Regions from separate parts of the Homo sapiens genome. Here region 2 is linked to region 1. Evidence: promoter capture Hi-C in 16 types of primary human blood cells and fetal thymus (Javierre and others, 2016). All regions are on one chromosome and are shown on one strand. The core of a region is centred on a gene start or on the middle of the fragment in contact, and the rest is flanking DNA. Distances in the headings are between cores, read along the strand shown. Region 1 holds the start of LPAR1 (lysophosphatidic acid receptor 1). Region 2 has its middle 27 kb from the start of MUSK.

Evidence for each region. Contacts are between HindIII fragments. The CHiCAGO score rates a contact against its expected background, and 5 or more counts as called.
Region 2: a contact is called between a fragment that was not itself captured here and the fragment with the promoter of LPAR1 in region 1, in 3 of 17 cell types (M1 macrophages, M2 macrophages and M0 macrophages). The highest score is 12.9, in M1 macrophages.

Annotation. Positions count from the first base shown.
Region 1 is chr9:111,037,162-111,040,010 of GRCh38, reverse strand. It overlaps LPAR1 (lysophosphatidic acid receptor 1), which reads left to right and starts at 1,541. Exons shown (of 6, transcript NM_001351411.2): 1 at 1,541-1,844. It overlaps LOC124902248 (a long non-coding RNA gene), which reads right to left. Exons shown (of 2, transcript XR_007061732.1): 1 at 2,222-2,849; 2 at 1-556. RefSeq lists a silencer at 1,772-2,111. The HindIII fragment of the contact is 5,735 bases long and covers 1-2,849 here.
Region 2 is chr9:110,640,296-110,643,043 of GRCh38, reverse strand. No RefSeq gene overlaps it. Among named protein-coding and RNA genes, the nearest start is that of MUSK, 27 kb to the left of the region's middle. The HindIII fragment of the contact is 3,157 bases long and covers 1-2,748 here.

The DNA.
Region 1 (2,849 bases), core at 292-2,791:
TAGTAGGTTATAAAATAAATCATATATTCGTAGGAAAGGTATAGAAAGCAAAGTTATTTAAAGTGGATTTTTAAAAAAGATTTGAATGATTTTTTTTAAAAAAAAGATTAGAACCATTGTTTTTAAAAGGAAACAGCTTTAGATAGTAAATTATTTACAGCCAGGACTCAGCCCTGAGCATCCTGTGAAAACCACACGAGCTTGGTCAAGGTTCTAAGCAGTCACCGGTGGGAGATGGTCATGGTCCCGTCACAGCATAACTCACTTGAGGCTTGAAAAGTTTCCGTCCAGCTACGGTTTGCAGTGACCTTTCTCTTCTGCAAAGCCCACGGTTACCTGGTGGCCACCACCAACATAGCCCCGCCTCGCTGTCCTGCGTTTCTCTCAATCAGATCAGTCCTGCCGAGTCCCCATGCCTTACTGCTGGTGTGCTGTGTCCTCTGTGCCATTTCAAGGCGAGGGCTCATGAAACTTTTACTCACACGCTGCTATTTTTGATATGCGGTGGCCTTAGCTGTGGAGCGAGAGGCCGATAATTGTGATCACTCCGGAAATCCTGGGAAGCCAGAAGTGGGAGATGGGTGTTGTGAGGTGGCGTGGCTAGGGAGACCCCATCGAGTGGGTGTGTTATAAGACCTGGGCGAATCCCTGTGGCTGCCACTCTCCTGAGAATGTTCCCTAGGCCTTAGTCCCGCGCCGCTCCCACCCACACCTCCAGGTGTGCAGTCCCCGCCCTTAATTACTCTCACTAAAATTGATAGTTTACACTTGCAAAGCTACACTGGGAAAGCGGAAGAGAAATTTATAATCGTGGATATGGAGAACTAGGGGAGCAGACACACTTGCTTTCGTTTACAGATCCAGTGAAGTGAAAAATCAGAACTAGAAACGTATGCACCTTCCTAGCAGCAAAGCCGCTTCTGCGTTCTTCGCAGCCTCCAGTGCAGGGCGGCGCTGGGAGAAACTTTGCGCCTTCTGGAAAGTTTAGAAAGTGAGCCACGAAAGAGAGGCCACATTTCCGGGGTTTTGCGGGCCCCGCGATGTTTTCCAGAGCTTTTCGAGTGGGAAGAGGAGAGCGACAACGTGAAAATGCCCCGTGCCGGGGCGTCCACCGGAGTCCTGCCAGCTGTCCGGCGCTGGGGTAAGCGCAGGAGGGGCGGGGGTGGGACCCGAGCTGGCGGCCACGGGTCTCCCGCTGCGGGTGTGTCGACTCGGGGGCGGGGCGGGGGAGGCTGCTGAGATAATGAATGGGAGGCTAAGGCCACCCCCCAGCCCCGGCCCTGCCACCACCGTGGGCTGTCGAGCCAATGAATGGAGGAGGGGGCGCAGAGGTCAGGGGCGCTGGGGGCGCCACACCAGGTAAGGGGTCCAGCTTGGGAGCGGGGAGGGCGGACTCTGGGGGTTCGGGTGTTGCTGACTTGTGCTACGTGGAACAAGCAGAAAAGAAGGAAGGCGGAGGAAGAGAGGAGGCTGGCGTCGGCGCTGCTCCTCTGGCCCTCCCTCTGCGCCCCCTCCTCCTGCCAGCGCGCCAAAGCCGGGCAGTAGGGGCCGACTGGCGGCTGACGCTCCCTGAGTGGCGACTCCGTCTCCAGCCCCGCTGCGGAGCGCGGGCCGGATCTGGGGCGGCCAGGGCCCGGAGCCGCGGAGCCCTCCCCGCCGCCCGGCCGAGCACGGGACCCCGGCGGGGTGGGCGCAGGGGGCGGCCCCGCTCTGGGCGACTGCCGAGGGGCGGGCGGAGGGCCGGGCTCGGCTGGCGGTGGGGCGGGGGCCGCCGGGACTGGGCGCGCGGCCTGAAGCCAGCCCGGGGGCGGCAGGAGAGGGACGCGCGGCGGCAGCGAGCGCAGGTAAGGGGGCCGGCGCGGCGTGTGGGGACGGCGCCCCCTGGGCGCGAAGCCAGAGGCCGCGGCGACTGCTCGGCCCGCCACACGGCGCGCTGGGCTCACACTGTCCCGCCGCGGACGGGCTTTGTGGTTGGGGGCGCGCGTGCGAGTGCCAGTGAGAGTGTGGGTGCGCGCTGTGGGCCGCGGCGCGGGTGGGTGGCCGTGCGTTCTTGCGAGCCGGCCTGCAGGAGGCGAGGCTCCCCTGGCCTCCCGCACCCAGCGGCGGACCGAGCCCCTGGAGGGAAGTTGCCGCAGCCGCCCGGGCCGCCGGCCCTCCTGTCCCGCGCCAGGTCAGTGCGCCCCGGGGCCCGCCCAGTGACACGTAGGTGGCCTCCGGTTACCTGGGTCGGGGTGGGTGCGCGGGAGGGCTTGCGAGGGGCCCTCGAAATTCTCCCAAAACCTCGTCCCGCTGGACTTGCACCTCCGAGGGGTCCCTGCGCCCCTGGGGCTCCGCACCTCTCGCTTCCCACTGACGACTCGGTTGTCCCCCACCACCGGGCTGAGGACTTTTAACTAAGTTTCTGTCCAGCCGCCTAACAAACGTGCTTAACAAGTAACAGGAGGTTGTAAGGCAAGGGAGGGACCTGGCTTTGAAAGTTGATGGTTTTGAAATCGACGGCTCCTTTGACTTGCGTAGGACTCCTTTGTGGTGAATGGATTTAAAGTTTATTCTTGTTTTTCTTTGCTGCCATTTGGTCTTTGCAATGTTAAGAGTGAAGGCATTCAGGACTTGCTGCTGCCTGCTGTCTGGGGCCTGAGGTTGTGGCTCTCCGCTTCTGCTCTCCTCTCTTCATTTTTGTTGAAATCCGTGGATTTTTTCATAAATGTGGGTGCTGGCTTGTTTCACTATGGACGCGTCGTTTCCTATGGGGTTAGATAGATATTGGTAAACATAAATATTGAAAATGTGATGATCACATATTGATGATCACAGCGAAATCCTCTATTCCTTCAGGCTCTAACAGTTTG
Region 2 (2,748 bases), core at 165-2,664, 400 kb after region 1:
TTATTATTATTATTGTTATTATTTTGAGACAGGGTCTCACTCTGTCGCCAAGGCTGGACTGCAGTGGCGTGATCTCCGCTCACTGCAACCTCCACCTCCCAGGTTCAAGCAATTCTCATGCCTCAGCCTCCCAAGTAGCTAGGACTACAGGAGCACACCACCACGCCCAGCTAATCTGTATATTTTTTAGTAGAGACAGGGTTTCACCATGTTGGACAGGCTGATCTCGAACTCCTGACCTCAAAGTGATCAGCCTTCCTTGGCCTCCCAAAGTGCCATTATTGTTTTTAAAGTATAAGAATAAAATGTGCCTATATAGTATGGTTTGTACACATGCATATATGTAGAGAGAGAATACACTGAAATCTTTAGAATTTTCTCTCAGAGGTAGAAGAGCAGATAAATTTTAAATATTTTAGTATTTTAATTTTATATTTATATAAAAAGTTTCTACATTTTATATAAAATATATTTTTATATTCTTATTTTGTAATTGAATTTTCTGATTCCCCAAATTATTCACTATGATTATGCATTACTTTCAACTATACACATACATATATATAAAATTTATAAATAAACATTTACAGACAGTTTTTACATCTGTGCCCAGTTTTGCAGTTATGCTTACAACACTTTAGTCAACTTTACACATTATTCCTGCACTCATCAGTTCTTACATGTCACAAAACTATCTTGACTCGCGAATATTTTTTTTGAGATGGAGTCTCGCTCCATCGCCCAGGCTGGAGTGCAGAGGCGCCATCTGGGCTCACTACAACCTCTGCCTCCCGGGTTCAAGCAATTCTTCTGCCTCAGCTTCCCAGATAGCTGGGATTACAGGTGCCCATCACCACGCCCGGGTAATTTTTTGTATTTTTAGTAGAGACAGGGTTTCACCATGTTGGCCAGGCTGGTCTCAAACTCCTGACCTCAAGTGATCTACCCACCTCAGCCTCTCAAAGTGCTGGGATTACAGGCATGAGCCACTGTACCTGGCCTTGACTTGTAAATTTTGATTCATTTTTCTATTGAGTAAAATATTTTTCTTTCTTTTTCAGAAAGGGTACGTAGTAGCTGTTTTCTAAGGCTTTGTGTACGAAAAATTGTCTCCTAAAGACTCCACTTGTAAAAGGCAATAGATCGAATATAGTCTTTTCGTACTATTGACGGACATTCAATATTGCATGAGTTTGAAGCAAATCTAATTTTTGTACTATTGAAAGTCACCTTTTTAATTTTGTTTTTGCCTGGTTACTCCTACAGTGTTTCATTATCAAAATCGGAAAAACTTTGGTTCCATTTCTCACCAATTTTAGCCATTAAGACAGAGGCTTGTTTTAATTTGAAGGTCAGTGTCACCTGGAATAAGGGAATTCTGTGGTCACCCCTGGTGACTGCACCAAGGCTATGTATGCTGTCCCTCAGATCACACAAAGCTCAGGGTACTTGGCAGAGCTAGGGCTGTGACTCTGCAAGTAAAATTATAGATATTTGCTCTGACTAATTTAGTAATCATCCATGAAAAACGATGATGTGTAACCCATGAGTGGATCTTTCTAAATCCTACATTAGCTTTTCTCTGAGCCCCGTTAAGTTTTCATCATTTGAAGTTTGGCTTCAGTCAAAGGACCAACTGACTCAAAATAAGGATAACTGGATTTCAGCTATCATAGAGCATTGCAGCCCAGGAATGAATTATGGCTGTGCAAATCAATCCCTTGATGTCATGAAGGTAATTCTTGCCAAATTACATCAACTTTGCCCCCTCGACACAGCTTCTCTGTCTTGGTAGAGGAATACTGTCTATTCTCTAGACCATACCAGAGGCAAAAGTAGGACTATTTGTCAAGGAATATGCAAAATTTTCTGCTTTCAACTCCATCACTCCATGTAGCGTCAGGCATTCTGCACAGTCTATCATATACATTGCAAGTCTCCAGGGTAAGTGAGTGGGTTGGGGGTTGCACTTGAATTCACAACTGAATCTCTTCTCCTACCCCCACAGCTGCTGTTATCTTACTTTCTTGCAACAGCCTCTTCAATGAGACATCCTGTCAAACCTCAGCTGTAAGAGCCTCTCATCACTGTCACTTCTTCTATTGTTCTCTGTAATAATGTCACCAGGCCTGCCAAAAGGACTGTCTTCTAATACTCCTGAAGCTGTCAAAACAACTTCCACTGCAGATGTCTAGGTACTCCCACTGGGCACCCAGCCACAGGTGACAATCAATGCTATGTTAAGTCATTTTACAGAGTTCTAGGTAAAATCAGCACTTGAAGTTTTTATTTGCAGGCCTCTCTCTCTCTCTAACATAGTTGTGGAAATAAAACCACAAGCTGTAAGATGTTTTTACTGTGTGGGTTTGAAGCCTGGCTATATTACCTTGGGAAAGTAATTTAATCTCTTTCCTCCTTTCTAAAATGTTATAATAATAATAATACGTACCTCGTGTAGATGTTTTGATGAGTGAGTACACCTATCCCTTGCTTAAAGAGTTTAAATTATTCCAAAAACTTTGTCATTAATCGAATGGCCAAAATTTTTGAAAATCCACCAATTTAAATTGGAACTATTCTAGTCCAGTTAGGCAGCTTCCTAAATACTGAGCACATAAAGATATTCCGCATTCTTCTTTACAACATTTATACTATGGAATTCAGATCTCATTAATTCATCATATGTAATGCTGTCACAGACTGTGGTTAGGCTACAGTTTGAAGGAAGCCATTGAAAAACGGTAAGAA